Regions from separate parts of the Homo sapiens genome. Here region 1 is linked to region 2. Evidence: promoter capture Hi-C in human tissues and cell types (Jung and others, 2019). All regions are on one chromosome and are shown on one strand. Each heading gives the region's core, a stretch centred on a gene start or on the middle of the fragment in contact. The rest is flanking DNA. Distances are from core to core; before and after follow the strand shown. Region 1 has its middle 17 kb from the start of GFM1. Region 2 holds the start of MLF1 (myeloid leukemia factor 1).

What was found. The method cuts DNA at HindIII sites, captures the fragments that hold promoters and counts their contacts. A contact is called where the count stands out against the background at its distance.
Region 1: a fragment that was not itself captured here is called in contact with the fragment with the promoter of MLF1 in region 2 in 1 of the 25 tissues and cell types used here (psoas muscle).

The regions. Positions count from the first base shown.
Region 1 is chr3:158,625,245-158,629,789 of GRCh38, forward strand. It overlaps the pseudogene RFKP6. Among named protein-coding and RNA genes, the nearest start is that of GFM1, 17 kb to the right of the region's middle. RefSeq lists enhancers at 1,198-1,699, 1,700-2,199. The HindIII fragment of the contact is 7,108 bases long and covers 1-4,545 here.
Region 2 is chr3:158,568,811-158,573,363 of GRCh38, forward strand. It overlaps MLF1 (myeloid leukemia factor 1), which reads left to right and starts at 2,384. Exons shown (of 8, transcript NM_001369783.1): 1 at 2,384-2,537. The coding sequence starts at 2,491. MLF1-DT (MLF1 divergent transcript) reads right to left here and starts at 2,256. Exons shown (of 5, transcript NR_104147.1): 1 at 1,361-2,256. The HindIII fragment of the contact is 8,231 bases long and covers 1-4,553 here.

The DNA of each region.
Region 1 (4,545 bases), core at 1,935-4,434, 57 kb after region 2:
TATTCATCCTTTTGACAAGGCATGCCAAGGCAAGCATCAAAAGTAATGATTTAGGGTGAGTCTGGCCTAGTTACATTGATAACAAGGTCAGCAATATAATGAGGAAAGAAGAAAGGGTAGTAGACTAGATAAAAGAGAGTTAAAGTTTTCTTAACCTTAGTTTGAGGAGGTTTTTCTCTTGGATAATGACCCATGACTTCAGGGATGGTGGTGCTTTCTCGACTTGGGTATGATGGGTCCATCTTTTCTTGCTATTTGGACTATGGTTTCAGTGGTTAGAAGCACTAGGCCGGCTCCTCAGGCTGGTGTCAATGTACTGGAAACTCTAGGGGTGATGCCTGTACTGGAAAATTGTGAGTTCTGAAGGAAGAGAAAGTGGAAGATAAAGCAAGTATTCAGGAATGTTGGATTGCTTTGAGAGGCAGTTTGGATTCTTACTAGGGTAATAGGAAGTCAGAAGACATTTGATTTTTGGCAACAAAGTCTCTAGACTTGTTTGGCTAAGGGTGTAAATTCCTATACAGGTATAAACTTTGACCGTGCTATACATGGCTTGGGGTCTTTAATGGATCCTCTGATGTAGGTGGGATAGGACTGCCTTTATAAAAGGTTTGAATAACATTTCTCTGAGTTCCCTTTAGCACCTACAGGAGAAATGGCAGCTGGTCCAGCTTATCTGATTTGCTAGGTTATTTTCTTGACTCTTGAAAGACAGGCTTTTTGGTGCCTGGGGACATGGACAATAGCTATTTTTTCTTTTCTGGTAACTGAAGGCTATTCAACACTTGGGTGATTAACTCCTCATGAACAAGGCTTTGACTTTTACTATTCATTCAGTCTGAATTTTTCTAAATTTATGAGCCACTGTAAAGGCGTATTTAGAATTAGTATAGATGGTTCTCTCCTGATCTTGCAGATACTTTAAAGCTTGACTAAGTGCAGACAGCTTATAAATTTGGATAGACTACTTATTAAAACACTTTGATTTTATCTCTCTAGGAACTTTTATTAATAACTGAACACTTGTTGTGTTCTTTTTCCCTTAATCACTTTTGAGGGGGGTTTCTTTTAAGTTCTACTGGATGTTTGTATGGTAATCAGTTAAATCTAAACATGTGTGCTTTTAGATTTGGCTCTCTCGTTAAGAAACTTGCTAGGTTAAGCGAATTATCAGTAGTTAATGTTAAACCATCCTTTTTAACAGAATAGCCTCATACTTATACACATATAATTCTTTTCTGGTGGCACATTTTAATATAAAACATAAATATTAATATATAATATATATAAAATAAAACAATATATAATATAAATACATAATATACAACTTAATATAAAACTTAATATATATAATATATAAAATATAAAACTTAATATATAATAGAAAACTTTAAAGGATCAAAGTTCTTTTCTGGTGGATATTTTCACTTTTAACACTGACTTGACCACAATAAATGCTAGTGGATATATCAGCTGAAAGATTATCTACTCAGGAGACTTAGCTGCAGAGATGCCTAGCTGCTTGGAGCCATGGCTGAGGCCTGGTATTACTTGGCCCTGGCAAAAGTAAGGCAGATGTCCCATAATGTAGTCTGCTCAGGGCATAGGCTGGGACCTGGACTGTGTGTCTTGCAGAGCTGCCGTCAATGTGGTGCCGGGACCTTGGACCAGCCAGGGGGCAGGAGCATGGGCTTTGCCTGCCGCTGGGGCGTACTATGGGCTGGATGATGCCGACAACATGTTGCAGCTGATCCTTGATGTTGCTAGCCCGGCAAAAGCCACCGGCGAATTACGAGCTTGGAGTTCTTTTGGGGAGGGGGACTTAGGCTGGGCCTGAGGGAAGGGTTGGGTGTATTAGGTGGGGGACCAGGGGTATTAGGTGGAGGATGGCCTAGGGGATCCCGTGTGCTGTTCTCGTTTGCCAGGATTCCCTGAGCCCCTTCCCTCACTGGTTCTACAGTAGGGGCAGGGGCATAAGGGAAAAGGGAGGACAGGTCTTTGCTTCCAACAAAGAGCATAGACCAGTTTTTCTTGAGAAACTGGGCTTTTATTATTTACATGTTGAATTAAAAGTTGACATAGTATATCCTCAGTCGACCCAAACTTTGGCCAGAAGATTGAGGGATTGAGGTTAGGTCTTTGAGTCCAAATAGAACAGCAATATTTTATCATTTGTTGCTTTTATTTATGTTTAGTTCTTTCATTATCTTCCCAGCCTTTTAGCATGAGACCTAGAGGGTTATCAGGTGGTATATCTTTGAGACCTAAGGGACTATCAAGGGGATATCTTTGTTGCTAACTTCATCTTTTTTGCTTGTAATATTTCCCATACTGGGTCCTGGCTAGGCTCAATCCCTCTTATTAGGAATCTCTTGCCAATTTGGGGAGTTCCTTGTGGCTCAACCCCTCATATTAGCGATCTCTTGCCTATCCTTCAGTGGAAGCTTTGCTAAGGCTTAATTCGCTTATCTCCATCTGCTGGAGGTCCCTTGAACCCTTCTTTTGCTTCGTCTGCTCTGGCCACTTCCCTCTCGGGAATGTTTCAGGTCCCTCTTACCATTGATGGCGGGTCAGTATAAATCCCTGATGGGACCCCCAAAGGGCCGCCCTAAGCCATATGTGGTGACCACGGAATCGTAGATTGGACTCACTCATTCCTCACAGCAGTAGTGCTTGTTACCATTCATGCACTTTCAACCTCCAGAATGCCCCGACCACCCCCTCTGACCACCAAAGAAGTACTTTGTCGCCCCTGTGACGTTTCGTACCTTGGTCTGTGCACAGAGTTTACCTGGTCGCCACGGTATTGCAAGCCTCTCCTCCCCACGTTGCTGAGAGTGTGGGTTTATTCGTCACCAAGGGTGGGTCTCAATCTCACCTCCCTGAGGCCACCGCAGTGGGGCAGTGGGACACGTCTTGCCTGAGTAAGGAAGTTAACAGGCTAAACACTTTGAAGAGAACTCAGAAAGATTTATTGTATCTTACAGATCAGGGTACCTCTGCTCAGATTCCCTTCATGGATACCAAAATGTGAACCCCGAATATCTGAGACAGGTCTCAGTTAATTTACAAGGTTTGTTTTGCCAAGGTTGAGGACATATGCCTGTGACACAGCCTCAGGAGGTCCTAACAACATGTGCCCAAGGTGCTCAGAGCACGGCTTGGTTTTATACGCTCGGAGACATAAGACATCAGTCAACATACGCAAGATGAACATTGGTTCTGTCTGGAAAGGTGGGACAACTCAAAGCAAAAGCAGGACAGCTCAAAGCAGGGAGGGGGCTTCTAGGTCATAGGTTGATAAGAGACAAATGGTTGTATTCTTTTGAGTTTTCGATTAGCCTCTCCAAATGAGGCAATCAGATATGCACTTATCTCAGTGAGCAGAGGGATGACTTTGAGTAGAAGGGGAGGTAGGCTTTGCCCTAAGTAGTTCCTAACTTGACTCTTCCCATTAGCTAAGTGATTTTGGGTCCTCAAGATTTGTTTTCCTTTCACAAAAATGTGTACTCATAAAAATTTAGCTAGACATTTCATAGATTTCTGTGTTCTATTTTTCTCTTTGCAGAAAGCAAAAGTGGACTACTTTGATTAAAAGTGGTGATTAATAACAATAAAAATATACTTGGTACAATAATCATGGAAAAAATGAATATATATACACATAATAATGAATATAAATCTTTACTAAGGAAACAGTTCATTAAAGTGGTAATTTCAATATAGTAGATATACAATCTTATTTAATATAAGATTAGTTATCTGCATACTAAATAAAATATAAAATTAAAAATTAAAAACCTTTATTGTGTATTTACATAATCATGTATTTTAAAATAATACTTATAAAGGTATATAAAGACTAAATTTTTAGAAGTCTAAATAAAAAAGTTTATTTAAAGTATTTGATATGGTTTGGCTGTGTCCCCACCCAAATCTCTTCTTGAATTGTAGCTCCCTTAATTCCCATGTGTTGTGGGAAGGACCTAGTGGGAGGTAATTGAATCATGGGGGTGGGTCTTTCCCATGGTGTTCTCATGATAGTCAATAAGTCTCACCAGATCTGATGATTTTATAAAGAGGAGTTCCCCTGCACAAACTATCTTTTTGCTAGCTGCCATGTAAGACGTCCCTTTGCTCTTCCTTCATCTTCCACCATGATTGTGAGGCTTCCCCAGCCATGTGGAACTGTGAGTCAATTAAAATTCTTTCCTTTCTAAACTACCCAGTCTCGAGTATGTCTTTATTAGCAGCATGAAAACAAACTAATACCGTATTTTTAATGTTAATGGATTCATTCATTAAAGTGACTTAGAAATCCTTTATTGCATATTACTACATGGGATGATATACAAAAAGTAACTTTGAAATTCATCATTGAGCCTCTCATTTTCCTTTTCTTGTCCCTTGTACTTTTTTCAATTTACTTGATCTCATTCATTCATTCATTTAACAAATATTTATTAAACACCTCAAACATGTACGGAGACACAGTAATGAGCAAACAAAACTGTTGTCCTTATGAAACTTATATTCTCACATGGA
Region 2 (4,553 bases), core at 1,134-3,633:
GTAGATCAGTCCCCAACACTGGGTAGTCACTCAATAAATATTTGTAGAATTGAATTTATGTGATGTGAATATATTCCCACTGAATTTTGTACTTTTTAGTTTGGGTCCATTTAGCTTGTCAGCATGATTTTGAAAAATGATTACCCGCTTTCATCCTGCATCTTTAAGTATGACTCATCACTCACATACCATATAACCAGCACTCACAGAGGAAAGCTCCAGGTACCCAGCTCAGTTCAATTACTAGCTGTGTGAACCTTGGCAATTTATTCAGCTTCTCTGTGTCTTGAATGCATCATCTATACATGGGGATAAAAGCCATCTCTACTCCATAAAACTGCTAATGAGGATTCAATGAGGTAATGCATATGGAGTGCCTACAACAGTGCCTGGCACACATTCAATAAATATTAGCTATTATGATTATATTTACAGCCAAGTCCAGGACCCTCTCCTCTCAGTCCTGTTCTGCATCTCTATTCCTCCCATGCTGGAGTATTCATTCTCTCCTGACCCACGCTTTCTTTCATTTCCACCTCTTACCCATCAGTTCTGAAAATGATGTCAAGGTCTCTTCAGTGCCAACTCTGCTCTGCCCTCCTTTTTTTTTTTTTTTGCATTTGTCATTAGATCCAAACTGCTTTCACAAGGTTCAGCTAATTCCCTGACTAACCTGTGCCTGGACTAAAGCTTTTATAACAATGTGATTCTAAAAAAGTTCCCACAGAAACTAGAGGGTAACATTACAAATTTACTTGGCCTTAATCCAGAACTATTTTAACACCATCTTTTATCACATAACTTACTCCATTTCAAGTTTTTTTTTAAGTGTGGCCTCCTTCACATCTTGTGCTTATACTATTTTAAAGAGAAAAACAATTTAAGGTCTTATAAAACAATTTTGTTTGCCTTGAAATTTATTTAGAAATTTTCGAAATTTTGTGTATATGTTCTCTGAGCTTTATTCTGAGTCCAGAGGAAAAGAAAATATCCTCTTTCCTGGATGGGCTGTGCCATCTCATCTTGGGCTGTGAAGTCTGCCCTACCCCATGCCACCAGTCTCAGGGGAAGGAAGCTGCCAGAGAACTTGGCTAAAAAAGGGGGATGGGGAGTAAAAGATCCAAACGATTAAATTTCCAGCTCTCAAAATAACCCCTGACTACTCCTGTCACCTCCAAATCAGGGCTTGCACACTTCTTCATGCTGGCAAAGTGCCACCCCTCTGGCCTGATCCCAGGGGGCCCTGATGAGCTATGGACGCCCCTTTATCTCTGCAAGACAGCCACGTAGAGAAGCTGGGGAGCTCACTGAATTAAGGGTGGACATGCAAGATGTATTTTCTCTTTTCTTATACTCTTACCATTCTTCTCCTTAATCTCTCTTCTGTCTTCCCCTCCATCTGTCTCCAGGCTCCTGAAAGGCCCCGTGATAGTGTTTTCTAAAACTTAGTAATTTGAGTACCACTATCACGATGTTCCTCTCCCCTGCTCTGCCTACCCCTCCGCCCCACCATATCCAAATTCCACCTGTTCTATTTGATAGCTTACTTTTTCACTTAAAAATGCAAAATCTAGCTCTTGATGTATATCACTGATTTAAATTTAAAATCAGTTTCCTTGCCATAAATAGAAAGCTCCCTGATAAATGTAATGCAAATAAAAACATATAGTAGTGGAATTTTAGTTGGATATGGCTGCTTGCTGCAGGCCTGTGCCTGAAACCTGCTGTTAGGTTAAGAAATGCTGGAGAAGTGTTAAAAACATATCAGCATCGCAGTGAGACTTGATCTTTGAAAGAGAGACACAGAAGGACAACCGAAAAGAGAGCAGCTTTCTCAAGAGGTAAATAAGTTTGTTGAAATCTGATAGGCTTCATCCCATTTCCTTCAACAACTGAGTACACTATTTGCTAACTGTACTAAAAAACGTTTTGCACATTTTTTCTTATTATTTGCTCACAGCTTTTGACTACCAGAGAATGTTTCGGATACAGGACTAATTCCTGTGGATGACAGAATGCGACCGTTGAATGGGACATTGGGTGTCATCTGGTCCAAATCTTGACCCCTTTTCATTTTCCCCGAAAGAAAGACTTGCGGCTCGGAACCGAGGGCGGCATGCCCAAGGTCACAGAAAGGGTGGTCTAATGTTTTGGTTCCTGCAGCCCAGAGAACAAGCTATCCCATCCCACAGGAGCCTTGGCGAAAAGCTCCCCGGCCGGCGCAAGGCCAGACTTCTCGCCTCCACTGTGTTGATTGCGGTTGCCAGGGCAGCGGCGCATTGCTCCCCGCCTCGTCCTGGTGACGTCACAGAGCAATGTCCAATGGGAAAGCAGCTCGGTGTCACGCACCTCCTATCCCGGCGGGCACCGCCTGCGCCGCGGCGAGTGAGGCGTCGTCCGTACTGGAGGCTAGCTCTTGTCGCGGCCGCGGCGAGTTAACATCGTTTTTCCAATCTGTCCGCGGCTGCCGCCACCCAAGACAGAGCCAGAATGTTCAGGATGCTGAACAGCAGTTTTGAGGATGACCCCTTCTTCTCGTGAGTTACGGGAGCCAGGAGTCCGGGGTCGCGCGGGAATTAAGGTATCGAGGGGAGCTATTTTAAGGGAAAAGAGCGAGTTTTAGAGGGCGAGAGAGAATTCGGAGTAACTCTGGAGGCGGTTTGAAGGAGACGAGGATTTGGAGGCCTGGGAGGGAAGAGAGAGGAGGATTTAGGGGTGTGTGAGACAGGGAAGAGACGGATTTGGGCGCATGAGGTGGAGAGAGGAGGGTTTGGACGCGTGAGGTAGGCGGAGGGAAGTTTGGGGGCGTGAGGTGTGGGGAGGAGAGTTAAGGCTGGGAGTGGGGGGAGAAGAGTTGAGGCCGGGAGGTGGGGGGAGGAGAATTGAGGGCATGAGGTGGGGAGAAGAGGTTGAGGGCGTGAGGTGAGGGAAGGGTTTGGGAGCATGAGGTGGGAGGGAGGAGGGTTGAGGGCGTGAGGTGAGGGGAAGGGTTGAGGGTGTGAGGTGAGGGGAAGGGTTGAGGGCGTGAGGTGAGGGGAAGGGTTGAGGGCGTGAGGTGAGGGGAAGGGTTGAGGGCGTGAGGTGGGGGAAGGGTTTGAAAGCGTGAGGTGGGGGGAGGAGGGTTGAGGCTGTGAGGTGGGGGGAGGGTTTGGGAGCGTGGGGTGGGAGGAGGAGGGTTTGGGGGAGTAAGGTGGAGGGGGGAGGGTTGAGGGTGTGAGATGGACGAAGGAGGATTTGGGGGTGTGAGGCGTTTGGAGGAGGGTTGAGGGCGTGAGGTGGGGGGAGGGTTTGGGAGCATGAGGTGTGGGGGAGAGTTGAAGGTGTGAGGTGTAGGAGGAGGGTTGAGGACGTGAGGTGGGAGGAGGATTTGGGAGCATGAGGTGTGGGGGAGGGTTGAGGGTGTGAGGTGAGGGGAAGGAGGGTTTTGGACCGCGAGGTGGGGGGAGGAGGGTTGAGGGCGTGAGGTGGGGGGACGGTTTGGGAGCATGAGGTGCAGGGGAGAGTTAAGAGCTTGAAGTGCAGGGACGAGGGTTGAGGGCGTGAGTTGGTGGGGAGGGTTTGGGAGTATGAAGTGCAGGGGAGGATTGAGGGCATGAGTTGGTGGGGATGGTTTGGGAGCGTGAGGTGGCGGTAAGAGGGTTGAGGGTGTGAGGTGGATGGAGGAGGATTTAGGGGCTGAGGAGGATTTGGGGGCATGAGGTGTGGGAGGAGGGTTGGGGAGAAGGGTTGAGGGCGTGAGTTGGTGGGAAGGGCTTGAGAGCATGATGTGGGAGGAGGGTTGAGGGCGTGAGGTAGGGGGAAGAGGTTTGAGGGTGAGAGGTAGTGGGACGAGGGAGGGTTGGGGCGTGAGGTGGAGGGAGGAGGGTTTGGGGGCATGAGGTGTGGGGAAGAGGGTTTAGGGGCATGAGGTGTGGGGGTAGGAGGGTTGAGGGTGTGAGGTGGACAGAGGAGAGTTGATGGCGTGCAGTGGGGGGAGGAGGGTTTGGGGGCGTGAGGTCGCAGGAGGATGGTTGAGGACGTGAGGTAGAGAGTTGAGGGCCCCAGGTAGGGGGAGGAGGATTTGGCTGCATGAGATGGAAAGAAGGCCCTTCCTCACACTCCCGGGGTGCCTGCTGCTTTCCATTTGGCCGGACTTTGGGTGCCCGTCATGGCTTCCTGTGTGCAGAGTTGGCCTTTGCAGCTTCAAGGGCTTTGCAGGTGACATAACTACCATCTCGGTGAAACTTATGGTGAGAATTATGTTCACATAATTGCAAATGGGAGCAGGGAATATTTTATAGCTCCTCTTTAAATTCCAAATAGGAACAGGTAATATTTTATAGCATGACAGTTCATTGAAAAGGGGAAGTTTTTAAAACAGCATTTTCCATGTGAGTGGGGAATGTGTCAATGAGAGCACGACAAAGTTGGAGAGTTGTGCTTTCTCTTCGAAGTTGTTGGAAGTTGCCATGCCAATTGCGCTGTTTTCTTTGCTCGCTTTGTTACAGAGCTAACCTTGTTTGTGAAGGGACTCCGCTTTCTGTCAAAACTAGAAATAGGACAGGGAAGCTGAT